Linked DNA regions of Homo sapiens: regions 2, 3, 4 and 5 are each linked to region 1. Evidence: promoter capture Hi-C in 16 types of primary human blood cells and fetal thymus (Javierre and others, 2016). All regions are on one chromosome and are shown on one strand. The core of a region is centred on a gene start or on the middle of the fragment in contact, and the rest is flanking DNA. Distances in the headings are between cores, read along the strand shown.

Region 1 (3,526 bases), core at 330-2,829:
AGGCTGAGGTGGGAGGTTCACTTGAGCCCGAGGTCGAGGCTGCAGTGAGCCATGATCACACCACTGCACTCGAGTCTGGGTGACAGAGTGAGACCCATATTCAATTTTAATTTACCAATTCATATTTAATTTACCAATCCATATTTAACATTAGTTTATACGTACCTTCTTTTACATATTATCTCTTCTTTTACAATGAATATCTTGGTTCCTAATAACAACTAACCCAACTATTTGAATTTTTTTTTTTTAAGACGGAGTTTTGCTCTTGTCACCCAAGCTGGAGTGCAGTGGCGTGATCTCGGCTCACTGCAACCTCTGCCTCCTGGGTTCAAGCGATTCTCCTGCCTCAGCCTCCCAAGTAGCTGGGATTACAGGCGCTCGCCGTCACGGCCGGCTAATTTTTGTCTTTTTAGTAGAGACGGGGTTTCACCATGTTGGCCAGGCTAGTCTCGAACTCCTGACCTCAGGTGATCCACCCGCCTCTGCCTTGCAAAATGCTGGGATTACAGGCGTGAGCCACTGCGCCTGGCCTTGATTTATCCTATGATATACATGAAATAGTTTCAGAATTATAATTTCAACATTTTTACTTAGAATAAATCTAAGAAAAGTTCAAAATGTCTGTGTAGTTCCTTATGCACTTAGACTACATTGCACTAAATGACAGCACTGTGTTCAGAAGTTGCCCCGTGAAATTGAGAGCGTTCCCAGGTCCTTCGGACAGATTGTTTAAGGAACAGCAATGATTCCATGGACCAGTTTTCTCCAGGGTAGAGCACTGTTAATATATCCGACTACTTCAAAAAGATGAGAACTAACTAACTTCCTTGCATGGGAATACAGGGCCAGTTGCAATCCCCAAGATCCAGCAAGACTGCCTCGCCTTTCCACCCGACACCTGTTTTGAAGCATGAAATCGTGAAGCATACCGTGAAGAAGGTTCTCCCGTAGTTTCCCAGAAGTTTTTAATACGTTCTCAAGAAATGCTACTAGCTGTTCCTTACTCAGCTCTTTGTCTTGCAAGATTTCGCGTAGAGTTTCTGCAGAAACTAACCTGAAGGCACTGTCCCCGGGTAGCAAAGGGCCTGGTTTGTGGTGGAGGGCGTCCACCGGGAATACCTGCTCCCTGAACACCACCACCGAGGTCCACCATTCTGCGGCCAGGTTCTTCCGCAACTCTACGCCCAAGGGTCCGAAGCCGGGGTGGCACCCACTCAGAAGAGAATCCCGGCTAAGCTGCTGCTTGCTTCCACTTAGGAAATGCCTTCTCTGACAGATCTCTAACAGCGCCTCGCTTCCCTCTCCAGACCCGGGGGCTTCTGGGTGCTCGCCGTTCCCCTCGAGCTCCGCGTGCGACTTCACATGCCCTCCTTTGGGGCTACTCCTTTCCGTCAACAGCTCCGGCTGCCCCGCATCTACTCGACCCCCAAACCCAGACAACAGGCACCTGCAGACCTTATGGCAGGCCCTGACGGCTACACGAGAGCGCATCTCTCTCCGAAGTTAAAGAGCACACTCTCCCATCACTCAACGGATCCCAACAAGCCACCACTACCGTTAACAGAATCCGGAGAGGCCACGGCGCAGGCGCAACGGAGGTGAGCGTGCTTGCGGGCGGCAGGCCCCACCCCGGAAGCGCATGTCTGCGTTCCGGCCGCAGCCGTCCCCCGCCCACCATGGCGGACGCCGGCTCGGATGGTTCTCTGCTAGCTTGCCGTTCGCGTCGCGCCCCTCCCTTCAGATTGACTTTTTTCTTTCCTCGTAAGCACCAGTAAAGGTTATTCCCACCTATTTATAACCGTGGTGTAGCCACTTGAGTCACTTCCTTCTGCCACTGTTTTGCAGTCCAGAAAATTAAAATACTTCAGTATTATCCAAATCACCTTCTATATACACCTCAATCAAGCACTTGGACTAAATTTGGCATTTGGTTTCCCTTTAAACAGTTTTAGTCCTTTACGGTGATTTGTAAGCCCAGGCCTTCTTAACTAGGCAAATGCTGCCGCCAGGTGGCCTAGGCCTAACCCCAGAGCCGTTGTCTTGACGCTTAAGCTTCCGGGGAGGGGGGCGATAGGCTTCGTGACTAGGGTAGTGGTATGGTCACTTTAAATATTGCAGTGGCTTCCAAAGGGCAGTCCCCAGCCAGCAGCATCTGCCTCACCTGGGAATGCACTAGAAATAAACCAAGGGGCCCTGACATGTCTTAAACCCTCCTGGTGTCAGAGAAAACCACGTACGTGCAATTTCTTCCAGGGGCCCCTTCTATGGGTTCATCAAAACAATGAGACTTGTGACTGTTATTATTAAGAGACTCATGATTAAATTGCAGGTTTCTGATTTTGCAGTTTCTATTTAAATAGGTCGAGACCTTAAGACCTACCCAGAAAGTGGAAAAGTGGTATACCCAGACTGAGGAAGTTTGATTCCAAAGTCCATGATTTCTTATACCAGCCTCAGTTACGAAAACCTTTAAAGAGGTTCAGGGAAAAAGGAACAATCTACATTTCACTGTGAGACTACCAAACTACTACCTGATTAAGAGGGGTAACAGCTTAGCAATTGAGTTAATGTAATTCAGGAGTAAAGTTTTATCATTAGTAAAGTGCTGTACCAGGTTCAGGAAATAGTTCTTCTTTACAAGTGTATACAAGGGTTTAAAAAAAGGCCAGCTAGATAGTAATTAACTGCAAAGCTGGGTACTACTGCCAGGTGTTTTCCACATTCAGGAACTCACACCAGGTAAAAGGCCTATACGCAAATAAATAAAAAGAGAGAATGGGGAGAAAAATCACATTTATTAGTTAAGACGACCACAGGCTGGACACAACACACATGCTAAAAAGTGGACTGTCTTTTAAAACTTCCAAGGTAAATAGGTAAATGTTTTCCACAGCCCAACAATCATTTCAGTGTTTACAAATTAAAAGGCCCACGGTTAAGACATTAAACAGTAAAATATGTAATAAATGCTCCAACCTACCCTCTCCCCCGAAAGCTGCTTCTAAGTTTAAAACCATGAATTTGACTAACCATGCCATTGAAAACCATCCAGGTTACTACAGGCTGAATTAGTTTTCAATGTCTAAGTCCTAGAAATATCACTCCCTATCCCAGCCCTAGCAAATTCTAACTTTACATTTGACATAAGGCATTAACATCAATTAAAGCCTCAGTTTAATAATCAGAATTTAAATGAAGTCTCCTGAAGACCTCTCTTCTGGCAAAAAAAAACACGTATCAGACTCTGGGAAAACATTCAGACCCACTTCTAGCTATTACTGAAATAAATGATTAGAAAGTTACGTTGGTGAGCCGAAGTTAAACCTAAAGCTATCCCCTGGATCTTTCTAGCAATAAACCCATGTTGAACCTACCATGAAAACTTTCATTCACTGTGCTTTTGGTTACGTTGCCTCCTGATTAGTCATTAATTTTAATGAGGTTTTTTCCTTGTGTTGAGTATGAATAGACCTTACAGTTTGAGGATCTCTAGAATTCCCTGAATTATTGGAAAGACATTCAT
Region 2 (3,672 bases), core at 407-2,906, 690 kb before region 1:
CCTTCTGTTCATGTCTCTTAATTTGATTGTTTTAGTCTTCTAGATGCTGTTTTAGGATAGGATCATTTTCTTGTTTCATATTTCAGTCAGTTTTATATGTTCTGTGCTGGATGGGCTAGTGATGAAGGGTGGGAGTCCCCATCTAAAGGAAGAGGAAACAAAAGGAATAGATGTTAACAGATGATATCTTAGAATATTTTGAAATGAAGATAAACTTGTCTGTCAAATTACATATAGTATGCTTTATTTTAAAAATTAGAATAAACTAATACCTTTTAAAAATATGCATGTACTAATTTCAGAATGGTTTAAACTGCCTACCAGAAAGTTTTGGGCTGCACATTGGCTACATTGGTTTAAGGTGCTGATAGATGGTAAATGAAACACACAGAAAAAATATGCTATGCTATCTACTCTAATATAGACAACTTTCTCGCCTGTGTGCACCTTATCAGTTGCTACACGATGTTTAAACTCCTGTTTTCCAGGAGGGGTGTGTATTTGTGTGTGTACACTTGTCTGTTTTCCAAGAGGTTACTCATCTCCCCAGTGACCCAAGAAAAATTTTAAGTAAAACCCCTGAAATCCTGATTGGAAATATCAACATCACCAGAGAAGCATTGAAAGGTTACCACTTTGGGGGACAAAATGGAGATTATAAGCCCCATTCTTCACCTAGGTGCAGTTTGAACAGGGCTTGACAGTGGCTGGACCATCACTAAGTGAGACTTTAATTCATCAAGCATAACTGAAAATGGAGGCAGTAGATTATATCTTGGTAGCCAGCATGTGTAGACTTGTCTTATTTGGAGCCCACTTGGAATTTTCATTTCAAGAGTAAGATACATTAATTTTTTTCTACCATCTGGTTAATACTTAATGCAAAATGGCAAAAGAACAGTTATGGCTTCCCAATTCATTGAACAATTTTTTTTCCGTTTTATTTGTTATGAGAAAATTAATTTTGAGTTAAGAAATTTTTAATCATTTAAAATTGTATGACAATTATCTTGGGAATATTTATCATGGAGTTTTTAATATGAGGTTTATATTTGTTACCATTTGAGGTTTTTCCTTTTCATTGTATGATTTTGGCTTACAGACTTGTATTTTTACTTCATACTCCAGCTAAAATGCTAGATCCAGGTAAGTATTGTTGAACTTCAAATGCTGTTAATGTTGAAGTACAAGTCATTCTGGGGAGTTGTCTCTATCTCTAGGTCTCTGGTGCTGCACCTCCTAGACCAGGAAGTAGCTTTGCTCATTTTGGGTTTGACGAACAACTTATGCACCAGATTCGGAAATCTGAATACACACAGCCCACTCCAATACAGTGCCAGGTAAGTAAAACATAATGAAAGAAAAATAAAGTAGGGTAGTCTTTCATGACTATATTAATTTAAAAACAAATCACAGCAGTAAAACAGTGTTTAGTGTAGAACCTTGTTGATAAGGATAGAGGTATTTATCACTCTTAAGAAGTCACTAAATGGCTGACAAATATTCTTTTGTATCTGATACGTATGTTGAAAATATGATATGAAGAAAATAATTTATTAGGCCTAAACCTAACCAAAAAGGTTCGTATATAGACAAATTTAGCACTGTCAATGACTAGAATTCCTTCGTTCGTCACTTGAAAATTCTCATTCATTACTGAAAGTTTTAGCTTCTTTTTCCCATTTATATATGGGATTTATTTATTCTTATGCAGAACATTCTCATTTTCTGTATATGAATGAGATAGTCTGTACCTTCTTAAGGGGGGAAAATTTTTAAAATTTTAGCAACCCTTCATTATAAATTGCAATTTTTCTGTTTTGTTTTTGTTTTTGTTTTTTTTGGGGACAGAGTCTCACTCTGTTGTCCAAGCTGGAGTGCAGTGGCGCGATCTTGGCTCACTGCAATCTCTGCCTCCCAGGTTCAAGCAATTCTCCTGCCTCGGCCTCCCAAGTAGGTGGGATTACAGGCGCACGCCAGCACACCTGGCTAATTTTTTGTATTTTAGTTGAGATAGGGTTTCACCGTGTTGCCCAGGCTGGTCTCGAGCTCCTGAGCTCAGGGAACCTGCCCACCTCGGCCTCCCAAAGTGCTGGGATTACAGGCGTGAGCCACTGCCCGGCCTTGATTTTTCATTTCTGTATTTTAAACAAAATGGAGTTGTTTCTGTTCTGTAAGTGGTGGCTGATATCCACGTAATGAGAATGATGTCATTTCCTATAAATCAAGAAGTTAATGAGAATGTTGGATATTGATATTTCTATTTCACAACCAGTATGCATAGCACCAGGTATGTTTTGTTCCATTGCAAATAAAAATGTTAGTAGTCATTTATCATTCCCCAGGATTTGCTTCAGTACATCTTTAGAATTGAAATTTTAGAGTGGTTATATTTTACTTTTTCTCCAGGGTGTGCCTGTGGCATTAAGTGGTAGAGACATGATTGGTATTGCCAAAACAGGTAGTGGGAAAACTGCAGCCTTCATTTGGCCCATGTTGATTCATATAATGGACCAGAAGGAGTTGGAACCAGGTGATGGACCAATTGCAGTGATTGTGTGTCCTACCAGGGAGCTTTGCCAGCAGGTATGTGCTTTCTATAGAATGCCTCCTTCCATATGTGGACTAGCAAGGGACCAGCCAGTCAAGTGAGGTAGAATGACCAGGAAACTTTTTTTTTTAATTGTGATAAGATACACACAAAATTGATTATCTTAACCATTTTTAATGTACAGTTCAGTGGCATTAAGTATATTCACAGTGTTGTGCTACCAGGAAACTTTTGGAAAGTATTATGTGTTAAATATTTTCTATATAACCAAATACATATTTTCCCCTAAAAACTACTGTTTTTATTTATTTTTATTTATTTGCTTTTTTTGAGACAGAGTCTCACTCTTTTGCCCAGGCTGGAGTGCAGTGGTGTGATCTCAGCTCACTGCAACCTCCACCTCCCAGTTTCAAGCAATTCTCCTGCCTCAGCCGAGAGGCTGGGATCACGGGCACACGCCACCACACCTGGCTAATTTTTTTATTTTTAGTAGAGACGGGGTTTCACCATGTTGGCCAGGCTGGTCTCAAACTCCTGACCTCAAGTGATCTGCTTGCCTTGGCCTCCCACAGTGCTGGGATTACAGGTGTGAGCCACTGTGCCCGGCCAGAACTACTTTTTTTAAGAGGAAAAGCCTATTGTGATATGGGGATTGTTTGTATTATAAGCTGACAGTTTTTCTGTAGGATGAGTTCATTTTATCTTGGTAGAAAAGCAGTGACAGGATCAGGAAGAGAAGGGGGTAAAATGAATAAAAGATTTTAGATAATCTGTTGAGATGCAATAATGGTATTCCATTCATTTATACCTTTATGAATAAAATCGTGGTTTTAAAGTATGTTCTAGGTTTCGATTTTTTATGACATCACATTCTGTTTTTCAGAACTTCGTTTGGGTTGTGACAGGTATTTGTTAGTGTCACAGTTTGTTAATATATTATTCACAACTTTGTAGATCCATGCAGAATGTAAGCGGTTTGGAAAAGCATATAATCTTCGATCAGTGGCCGTATATGGAGGAGGGAGTATGTGGGAGCAGGCCAAGGCCCTTCAGGAGGGGGCAGAGATTGTTGTGTGTACCCCAGTAAGTATGCCTTGTGTTTAAATGGCTTCTCAGCCTCC
Region 3 (3,606 bases), core at 792-3,291, 750 kb before region 1:
GAAATCAATGTTTTTCTTTGGTCTAAATTCCATCTAAAGAAAGGAGTTAGGGCCAGGCGCACTGGCTCACGCCTGTAATCCCAACACTTTGGGAGGCCGAGGTGGGTGGATCACGAGGTCAGGAGATCGAGACCATCCTGGCTAACACAGTGAAATCCCATCTCTACTAAAAATATAAAAAATTAGCAGGGCGTGGTAGCACACATCTGTAGTCCCAGCTACTCTGGAGGCTGAGGTAGGAGAATTGCTTGAACTTGGGAGATGGAGGTTGCAGTGAGCCGAAATTGCACCACTGCACTCCAGCCTGGGCAACACAGTGAGACTCCATCTCAAAAACAAAAAAAAGAGGAGTTTCACATCTGGTCTTTACAGGAAAAGGTTTGCTACTACTAAGGAAACAGAATCATAAGCTACTCCCCTCTTCCTCAAAAAATACCCTATCAATTTTTGCAGATAAAGAACTCTGAAAGGATCTGCTTGGTTTCCATTGGGAGAAAGAAAAGCAAAAGAGAGTAAAGCAAGAATGCATCACTTGGAGACCAGTCCTAGATGATGCCTTATACTTGCAAAGTGCTTAAACAGTTTACAAAACAATCTCACATATATATTTTCTCTTAGTGTTCAACTACCTGTGAAGCAGGCAGGGCAAATAATTACTATCCTCACTTCACATTAGGTTAATAACTTGCCGAAAGTCAAAGGATTAGTAATTAGTTCTGCTGGCACTAAAAGCCAGGTCTTTGTCTTACAGTCCAGTGCTTATTTTGGCATTGCTAAACATCCAGGCAATGCAAATGAGATTGGAGACTTAGTGGTTTTCCAGTTTGTGACACTAAACAACATCCTCCTCTCTTTGTCCTCGCATTCACAGGAGAGTTAATGGAGTCTTAAGAGGTGGAATGCAGGGAGGAGCCCATAAATAACATATGGGGCTCTAAAAATATAAAATGTTTTTAAAATGATTGAATGGTAATAACAAAAGGAATATTCAGATGAACTCTTTTGAAGGAAAAGCATTTCAGTGCTGACTTTTATCGAACAGAAAGAATTTTCCTCTGAGCTTATACTCTTGTAGGATAACTCCACAAAGTCAAGGCGGCACTCTGAGATTTTGTCAATCACTTTAATAGATGTCCATAGGTAGTTCATATGAATGCTTAAGTTACAAAATTAGCTGCCATGGTCCAAATGTATGGGACTTTAGGAAAGCTTTTCTTACTCAAAAGATAACTAAGACTATCAACTTTGATTTCTAAAATGTAATTTAAAGGTTTGTAAAACAAGGCCACTACTATAATTATATAATATTAAAGTAATTAAGTTTTATGTTAGTTATTTTAATAACAACTTCATGAACTGTTAAAAATATTACATTTGCATCTCTCAGTTTACATATTTCTGTATTAACTTGGAGAAAAACCCATGTGAAAAGTTTCCATGCAGTTACAAAGGCAGCAGCACATGCTGTTTTCACAGCAACTTGTTATTGCCTCAGAACAGGCCTGCACTAAAGCATCAACAAAAAATACCCACCACCCCACTCCCACCAGAAAACCCAACCCTTACCCATCCCCGGCAAAAATTACCTGGTACAAGCAATGACCTAAAAATGCTTTCTTGGTAAGAAGCATTTATAAAATGCAGAGATCTGAACAAGCTAAGTGCTCGTGCAGATACATGGGCCTCTCCTCCAAGAGTTGGTTCCGCAAGAGGTGGAAAGAACTCTCAATAGTTTAGGAAAGCTCATTTTCAAAAGTATACTTACACATATTCATGGCCATTTCTTTGAAAGAACATACCCAGCCTCAACTGTGGAAAAGATAAAAGCAGAGGGAGAAGCAACGGCACACAGCCATAATATAGAGAACAGAGCTTCTCCATGAACATCCACCAGGCTGCAGCAACCAAGAAGGAAAAAACATTTGTGATTTCACACAGACCAATGATCTTACCTAGGTGAAGCATTAATTTTTCATGCATTTGTTACTCAAGAAAATAAACATACAACCACTTAAAATACAGCATTCACGTTGTCACTGGTTCGTGGTATCAGGTAAGGAAAAAATGATGCTCCTGTCCCTAGAATTTTCCATGTACATGTCAGTATCCTAATGCCTACAGACTTCCTATTAATTTTGTTATCAGCATCTCCCACCTAAAAACATATACTACATTATGTTCTGGGTCCCTGAAATTTCATTACTACATACAGTGTTCTAATTTTTACTTTTTCTCAAGTTTAATGTAGACATACAAGAAAACATCAAGCAATGTTTATTGTGCAATTCCAATCATTATTTGCAGAATCTTGGTTTAGAGTCAGTCTTTATAGCCATTTCAACTGCTTGGTTTAAACAAAAAGCAACAATCTGGTTATCTACCTATAAATTTCACGGTATTTCTTTAAACACTGAAGTACTAAAAGCACTGATGATTTGTATTATAATTTTTAAAATATTTAAAACCTACACAGATTTCATAGATCATTCCTTTTATAAAATAATCAAAATAATTTGATTATCTGGAAAAAAAAATTCTTGAAACAGAGCCCTTTCCAGGTATCTTCAATCTCTGTAAAACCCCAAACCCCAAACAGAGTAGATGATGAAATAAGGATTTCTCAGTTGCCCAAGACTGTCTGAAATTTAAGGTTGAGAAATGGACTGGCGTTTTTCATGTTTCCTGTGAATTCAGAGCTTACAGGTGGCATCAGAACTCAAATCTCTGGGATGGCTTTACATGGCTTTCACTTTGATTTGTTTCATTTTCATTTGCTTCTTTTCCAACTTCTTTTGCTCACGCCTCAATGCAGCCTCCTAGAGAAAGAAGGGGTAATAAATAGAGAAAGGGAGTGGGGACGAGAGAATTCAAATTAAGCTTGAAACATATGTTAAAAAAAAATCCAAATTAGAATACTGCCTATAGTATTATTCAAAAACTTAGGCTTGCACCATAACATTCTAGAAGATAGTTATAAAAATAATTGCCAATATCTACATTAGTGAATAAAAATTAAATCAACTTCAAATGAAGCAAAGGTAAACTAAAATCTCAGTTTTGAAAGAAACTACTATAATTAACCAGCCTTTGTTATTCTGGTTTGATTTTTTTCTGTACCCAGGGAACACTTAGCCTGATGTTCACCATACCATTCATGATGGCATTATATCATAAATGTATAACTGCCAGAAGATACATTCTACTTCAGTTCAATAAATTTTAAGAATCTTGTTCCATCAGGTTATTCATTGCAAATTTCTTATTAGCACAGACACCATACCTGCACATAATACTTAAATTCATAATGCTCTATTTGAGACATCATATTTATCAAATGTGATAAAAATTATCAAATTTATCATATTTTTATTTAGGAATTAGGAAGTTACATAGAAGAGTAAGAAGGTTCAGGTTATTATTACGTGGACTGATAGAAGCCTTAGAGGTCAAGTCAAAGTATGACTTCACTGTTGGCCACTAGTGGTCACACCTGATTAAAAGTTTATTTCAGCTACAATCTCAAACTTCTTATTTTTAGGGTACTGGGGTAAAAATGTGCTCAGAAATATACTCAACTGGTACAGGATGGAGAAAATAGGGAAGAAA
Region 4 (3,338 bases), core at 768-3,267, 730 kb before region 1:
ATGGTATTAAGAGTTGTATTTTAACTCTAGAAAAAAGCTCAAATTCCAATACTTTCTCTCTTCATTTAATTCATTAAGTATACAAAAGAAATTGCTCAACCTCACAAGGGAAAACGGACTGATACACCAAATGAAAACAAGCAAGGGGAAGTAGAAGGAGCCAAAGCTGCTCATTTATTTTTTTTCGAATTTCCTGGTCAAAACATACTCTGAAATACTATGGTATAGTGGAGACGGGGTGGACTTTGCAAACAGGTAGATAAGTTCTGATATCTTGGTTGCAATTTAACAGCTTAGATAAGTTTTAACATTTCTGCCCTTCAGTTTCCTCCTTAGGAAAACAGCAACTATAGCCAATTGACAGTGTTGTTACAAAAAGTAAATAAGAAACACTGTATGCAAAGTATCTAGCATAATATATAAACACTACTGTGTTGCAGAGCAGGTGGATACATGCTTACTATTAAAGAGAAATAAGGTGCTAAATGCCAAATAGGTGAATGTGAGGTTAGTCCACCTCATTCCCTACATTGCACAACTACAGAGGTTCCTTGAAGTCCTTCAATGTATATTTCAGCAGTGGATCCAAAACTCAAGTGTCAGATTCTAAGGGAATTTTGAGGGACTTTCAATTTCTAAAAGATGAATTGAGAGCATTTATCAAGCTACCTAAAATGTCAAACTTTCTTGGTTTCCGTCAGAATTTTATCAACTTGTTTTGAAAACATCGATTACATTATACTAATCAGAAGCTGTTTAGCAATTTTACTGCTGACTCATGAAAGATGAGAAAATTATTAAATACAATATATTCTTATTTTTAGAAACAGGGTCTCATTCTGTCACCCAGGCTGGAGTGCAGGAGCATGATTCTGTACCACTGCAGCCTCAAACTCCTGAGCTCAATTCTCCCACCTCATCCTCCCAAGTAGTTGGGACCACAGAAGCACACCACTGTGACTGGCCAATTTTTATTTTATTTTATTTGTAGAGACAAGGTCTCACTATGTTGCCCAGACTGGTCTTAAACTCCTGGCCCCAAATAATCCTCCCACCTTGGCCTCCCAAATCACTGGAATTACACGTGTGAGCCACCGCACCGGGCCAAAAAACAGGATCCTCAAGGCTGGATGCAGTAGCTCACGTCTGTAATCCCAGCAATTTGGGAGGCCAAGGCAGCCAGATTGCTTGAGCCCAGGAGTTCGAGACCAGCCTGCACAATATGATGAAACTCTGTCTCTACAAAAAAAATACAAAAATTAGCTGGGTGTGGTAGCATGTGCCTGTAGTCCTGTCTACTCAGAAGGCTAAGATGGAAGGATCTCTTGAACCTGGGAGGTCGAGGCTGCAGTGAACTGTAATCATACCACTGCACACAAGCCTGGGTAACAGCGTGAGACCTTGCCTCAAAAAAATAAAAATAAAAAGGCCGGGTGCAGTGGCTCATGCCTGTAATCCCTGCAATCTGGGAGGCCGAGGTGGGTGGACCATGAGGTCAAGAGATTGAGACCATCCTGGCCAACATGGTGAAACCCCGACTCTACTAAAAATACAAAAATGAGCAGGGCATGGTGGTGCACGCCTGTAGTCCCAGCTACTTGGGAGGCTGAGGCAGAAGAATCGCTTGAACCCAGGAGGTGGAGGTTGCAGTGAGCCGAGATCGCGCCACTGCACTCCAGCCTGGTGACAGAGTGAGACTCCATCTCAAAAATAGTAATAATAATAATAAAATTAAATTAAATTAAAAAAAAAAAGAGCAGGGGGAATCCTTGAGAGAAAAAACAATGCACCCTCTTTGGTATTCCATGAAAGCAGTTAGATGCTTATACTGAGGGGAATACATCATCCTTACCAGATTGTTTTCAAGCAAGAAGCTGGGCTGACATTGGCCTCACTTACCCACTAAAGTAAAGTTGCTCTCCAAAAGCTCCCTATGAGTGTTAAACCAGGCCTGTGCAAGGCGACTGTTTTTATTCTTCCCAATGATGTAATTCATGATATAAGCAAGCAGACCAGTCACCATCAAAATTTCTAGATAATAACTCTCCCAGCTGTTCTGGAGGTGTGCAGGAACCTAAAAAAGCAAAATCATTCCATTAAATGTTGGCTGAGACTGAAGAATGAAATCTACCTCATGGCAGGAAGAATGAGAAAATCCATAAACAGAAGGGATACTTCAGATATCTGTCATTGAATAAGGTTATACTTTGAAAAATAGGTCCATTTTACTTTTCTAGGCTAGCTTGATAAAAGATTCTTTAAGGAAATATAAGGACAATCAAATGGGATGAAAAGCTGGAAAGCCCTTTGTTTTACACTTGGTCCTTAACCCCCAAATAAATTCAATGTACTGTACATCACCAAGGAATAAATTTTACTTATTCCCTGATAAGTAGTAAAACTAGAAGTGCTACAATGATGAATAGGGGTTGCTTCTGTAGGTGTTGATTTTTTTTTTTTTGAGACGGAGAGGTGTTGATTTTTATCAGAAAAATTGATGTCAAGCTCCTTCTCAGCTCCCACTATTGCATTAACACCAGCTATACATCATTAATTTTATTTCTGGGATTGATGACAAGACATTTTGTTGTTTAGTTGGGAATTCAGAATCCTGGATACCTACATCAACAATCGTTATTGGGTCTTTATTTTTGCTAGAAGAAGTATCTGGTTTGTCTTCATAACCTTCAAATTCTTCATCATCATATGGTTCACTCTCAGTATCTCCCTCCTACAAAAATGAGGCATCATCCGTTTTCCTCTACAAATGTCACCAGCAGCTGTGTCTCATTTTGTTGGCAACATTTGTTGGGGAAAACAAGAACGTGTAAGCAGCAAGCACAGAAAACAGATGTTACATGTTTTTAACAAAACGATTGGGTACAAATTTCAGCTTAAAATGAGAAAGTTCTGAAGACCTAATGTGCAGCAAGGTGACTACAGTTAATAATAATGTATTGTAGACTTGAAATCTGCTAAGAGAATATATTGTAAGTATTCTCACCACACACACACACACACACACACACACACACACACGGAGGCAACTATGTTAATTAGCTTGATTGTGGTAAGCACTTCATATTGTATGTAGAGGTATACCAAAACACTATGTTGTGCACCTTAAATATATACAATTTTTGTCAGTTACACCTCAATAAAGCTGGGGAGCACCCAAAACACCAAAATGATGAGTCCCCATGCTTTTGATGACAAAGTTTTTTCTTTTCTTTTTTTTTTTGGAGACAAGGTCTTGCTCTATCACCCAGGCTGAAGTGCAGTGGCTCAATCTCAGCTCACTGCAACCTCCACCTCCCAGGTTCAAGCGATTCTCTTGG
Region 5 (3,397 bases), core at 53-2,552, 660 kb before region 1:
ATCCCCACCCCTGGGCTAATCCACCCTGGGAACTGCTGTGGGTAAAAATCACCCAGAGCTTTACATAGGAGTCCCCTCGGGAAAGAGGACTACACCTTGAGGTCTCGGCGCTGGGAACGGAGCCATTCCTGGATGAAGTCCTGGGGGTCGGTGCTAAAACTGAGCATGAAATCTCTCTGGGTCTTCAGCTGGTTGATGGACTCAATGGTCTCATGGATCTGGAGAGGGTACCTGTGTCAGACTGTGCCCCCAAAGCTTACATGCAAGCAACTGAGCCAGAGTTCCCATCCCGTCCTCCAGGTGCTACATGTATGGAAATGCTGGACAGAGCCAGCCCACCCCAATCCTGGGCCCCAGAGGAAGCTGTGGAGCCAGAGGGCCCACCTTGACATCAAGGGAGGCGATCTCCTGCTGATTGGTGGTAGAGGCCAGAAAATTGCTCATTTGGGCCTTCAGTGGGTCGTCCACCTCCACATCGATGTCGTAACAGGCTGTCTTCTTCTGGTCGTTAGGGTCGACACTGCAGGCAGCACATGGGGAGGGAAGGCACATAGCTGACTTCATCCTGCCCACCTGGGCCAAATCTGGGGCCCATTCTCTGCACACACTCAGGGAAAAAGAAACCTGATGCTTTCTTTGGCTTTAGTTCAAGCCAAGGGTGAATCTGCTCTTAGAAGAGCCTTCCTGTCCCCCTCCTTGCATTTACCTAATGACATGGTTGATGACAATGGGGTCTGGATGCTGCAGCAACCCTGCCAGCTTCATGGGAATCTCGGAGAAACGGAGTCGGCCACAACTGAAGATCTGGAGGAAATACGAAAGGCTCAGCGTTGGCTTGTGGGCACAGTGGAGTGGACCATTCCAGGACCAGTGAGGGCAGCAGTCTGCAGGCTGTGGCCAAGGAGTAGCCCAGCAGGCAAGGCAAAGCAAGGGCTGAGAAAACGGGGGCTGGCATCTGGCTAACCTGGCGGAAGTAACGGTTGCAGTTGATGTACTCCCGCTCGTGCCCATCCTGCAGCTGGTTGTGCTTGATGTAAAGCCACAGGGCCTGCATGATGGCGGCCCTCGTCTGCGTGTGCACTCCCAGCAGCCTTGCCAATCGGGGGTCCAATTTGTACTGGGGAGGCTGGAGTTGGATGGAGGGGAGTCAGAACGGGTTCTTATAGTAGAACAGTGGGAAAATAGGGCAGGGACAGGAAGGGTTTCTAGGAACCAGCTCCCCTCCTGAGGGGTCCCTGTGGGCCCAGAAATGACCCCAGGGTCTCTGTCACCTGATGATCCAGCATGAGCAGGAGGGTGCACTTGACGTTGAGGTCTCCAGGCCGTTTTACTTGGAAGCCATCTGTCTCCTGGGTGGTGGGCATCCGGTGCCACTGGCAGGGAGGGAAGCATGGCTTATCACCAAGGGGGTGGGCGTGAACACAGGGCCTCCCAAGGGCCCTGAGGCCATTTCCCTGCCAAACCTGCACATCAGCCTGCTTTTGCCCCAGGCCCACTCTCACCTCCACCAGGTGATTGTCAGGCCCGTACAGCTCCTTGTCCAGCTCAATGACGAGGCTCTTAAAGAATGAAGAAAACTTCCTCTTCTGTTTGCTAGGCTGGGGATGGAAAGGGGTGTGAGATGGTGCTGCTGAGCTCTCAAATCTCAAGCTATGCTAAATCCCAAGAAAGAGAAGCCCCATTTCAGCCCTGGAGCTCCGGATACTGAAGATTCCTGGGCCCTGAAGGATGGAAGCAGGACTCTGGGCAGACTGGAGGCAGGGAAATGGTGCCCTCTTGCAGCCCACGAGGGACTTCCTCGAGACACTCGACTGCCATCTGCAGGAACACTGTAATAACCACACAAATCAACCTCCAACGGGCTTGGAGCAGCGCCCCCCTCCCTATGGCAGGACTTCTCTGGGAGCGCCCAAGTGTCTGGCCCAGTCTTTTTTTTTCTGAGACACAATCTCACTCTGTCACCCAGGCTGAAGTGCAGTGGTGTGATCATAACTCACTGAAGCTCGACCTCCTGGGCTCAAGCCATCCTCCTGCATCAGCCTTATGAGTAGCTGGGACTACAGGTGCATGCCACCGCACCCAGCTAATTTTTAAATTTTTTGTAGAGATGGGGTCTGGCTCTGCTGCTCAGGCTAGTATCAAACTCCTTGGTCTCAGTCTTAAACCCACACAGGCCTCCTTCCCTCCAGAACCTCCCTCCCCAACTCACATCATCCAGCAGTTTTCCTTCCACTCGGAGTTCCCAGGAAGCCACCTTGTCCCCTGCTGGGGTTCCCCCAGGGGTCCCTGCAGTTCCTGCACTATCGCCTTCCGCCTTGCTGGGACTGAACGTATTGGAAATGTAGATCCGAAGCTTTCGCTTTTGCTAAAGAGAGAAAGGCAATCACAACTGGAGGTGGACCAAGATGCTGGGACACAGTGCTACCGCATCTTCTCATATGAACCATTCAACAATCAGTACTGAGCACCATGAGCCAGCCAGGCACCTTGTCAGGTACTGGGAATCAGAAGTAGTAAGTCCCAGTCCCAGCCTTTTTTTTTTTTAGACATGGTCTCACTCTGTCACCCAGGCTGGAGTGCAGTGGCGCGATCTCAGCTCACTTGCAACCTCTGACTCCCAGGTTCAAGCGATTCTCTTGCCTCAGTCTCCCATGTAGCTGGGACTACAGGTGCGCACCACCATGCCCAGCTAATTTTTTGTGTTTTTGTAAAGATGGTATTTCAACATGTTGGCCATGCTGGTCTCAAACTCCTGACCTCAGGTGATCTGCCCACTTCGGCCTCCTAAAGTGCTGAGATTACAGGTGTGAGCCACCGCACCTGGCCGGAACTCACCATTTTATGGGGAAAGAGATGCATCACCAACAATGCCAGCACAGTGGGACTGGTGCTACGGCATGATGGAGTAACACGCAGCCAGTCTCTGGCTCACATCTTACATGAAACCCAAACACCCATCACGGCTCCAAAATATCCTAGTCCCCTGGAAAGGCTTCACCACTCGGGACTGTTCTACATTATTATTAAGAAAAGCTTCTCGGCTGGGTGCAGTGGCTCACGCCTGTAATCTCAGCACTTTGGGAGGCCGAGGCAGTCAGGAGTTCGAGACCAGCCTGGGTAACATGGCGATACTAAAAATACAAAAATTAGCCGGGCGTGGTGACAGGCATCTGTAATCCTAGTTACTCGGGAGGCTGAGGCAAGAAGAATTACTTGAACCTGGGATGCGAAGGTTGCAGTGAGCCGAGATCGCAACACTGCACTCCAGCTTAGGTGAAAGAGCGAGACTCCATCTCAGAAAAAAAAAAAAAAAAAAAAAAGAAAATTTCTCTATGGATGGGGAAGGGGAAGGAGAAAGGAACTACCTTTATCCCCTAGTCTAGTGGTTTTCAAACTT

The links. Contacts are between HindIII fragments. The CHiCAGO score rates a contact against its expected background, and 5 or more counts as called.
Region 2: a contact is called between a fragment that was not itself captured here and the fragment with the promoter of POLG2 in region 1, in 2 of 17 cell types (naive CD4 T cells and monocytes). The highest score is 6.4, in naive CD4 T cells.
Region 3: a contact is called between a fragment that was not itself captured here and the fragment with the promoter of POLG2 in region 1, in 1 of 17 cell types (monocytes). The highest score is 6.8, in monocytes.
Region 4: a fragment that was not itself captured here is called in contact with the fragment with the promoter of POLG2 in region 1 in 1 of 17 cell types (total B cells); the score reaches 5.7 in total B cells.
Region 5: a fragment that was not itself captured here is called in contact with the fragment with the promoter of POLG2 in region 1 in 2 of 17 cell types (non-activated CD4 T cells and total CD8 T cells); the score reaches 6.8 in non-activated CD4 T cells.

The regions. Positions count from the first base shown.
Region 1 is chr17:64,495,475-64,499,000 of GRCh38, forward strand. POLG2 (DNA polymerase gamma 2, accessory subunit) reads right to left here and starts at 1,580. Exons shown (of 8, transcript NM_007215.4): 1 at 933-1,580. The coding sequence starts at 1,494. DDX5 (DEAD-box helicase 5) reads right to left here. Exons shown (of 13, transcript NM_004396.5): 13 at 2,780-3,526. It also overlaps a transcript of MILR1 not described here. RefSeq lists enhancers at 757-1,616, 1,268-1,337, 1,718-1,857. The HindIII fragment of the contact is 2,967 bases long and covers 1-2,053 here.
Region 2 is chr17:63,805,315-63,808,986 of GRCh38, forward strand. It overlaps DDX42 (DEAD-box helicase 42), which reads left to right. Exons shown (of 18, transcript NM_203499.3): 8 at 1,221-1,340; 9 at 2,410-2,586; 10 at 3,506-3,634. Among named protein-coding and RNA genes, the nearest start is that of PSMC5, 20 kb to the right of the region's middle. The HindIII fragment of the contact is 8,082 bases long and covers 1-3,672 here.
Region 3 is chr17:63,744,146-63,747,751 of GRCh38, forward strand. CCDC47 (coiled-coil domain containing 47) reads right to left here. Exons shown (of 13, transcript NM_020198.3): 13 at 1,110-2,816. The coding sequence ends at 2,736. Among named protein-coding and RNA genes, the nearest start is that of STRADA, 4.2 kb to the left of the region's middle. The HindIII fragment of the contact is 1,668 bases long and covers 1,208-2,875 here.
Region 4 is chr17:63,762,117-63,765,454 of GRCh38, forward strand. CCDC47 (coiled-coil domain containing 47) reads right to left here. Exons shown (of 13, transcript NM_020198.3): 3 at 2,624-2,731; 4 at 1,900-2,074. Among named protein-coding and RNA genes, the nearest start is that of CCDC47, 9.8 kb to the right of the region's middle. The HindIII fragment of the contact is 4,117 bases long and covers 1-3,338 here.
Region 5 is chr17:63,833,203-63,836,599 of GRCh38, forward strand. SMARCD2 (SWI/SNF related BAF chromatin remodeling complex subunit D2) reads right to left here. Exons shown (of 13, transcript NM_001098426.2): 5 at 2,210-2,365; 6 at 1,503-1,598; 7 at 1,272-1,373; 8 at 965-1,126; 9 at 707-804; 10 at 385-520; 11 at 96-218. Among named protein-coding and RNA genes, the nearest start is that of FTSJ3, 7.2 kb to the left of the region's middle. RefSeq lists an enhancer at 1,841-2,000. The HindIII fragment of the contact is 2,098 bases long and covers 254-2,351 here.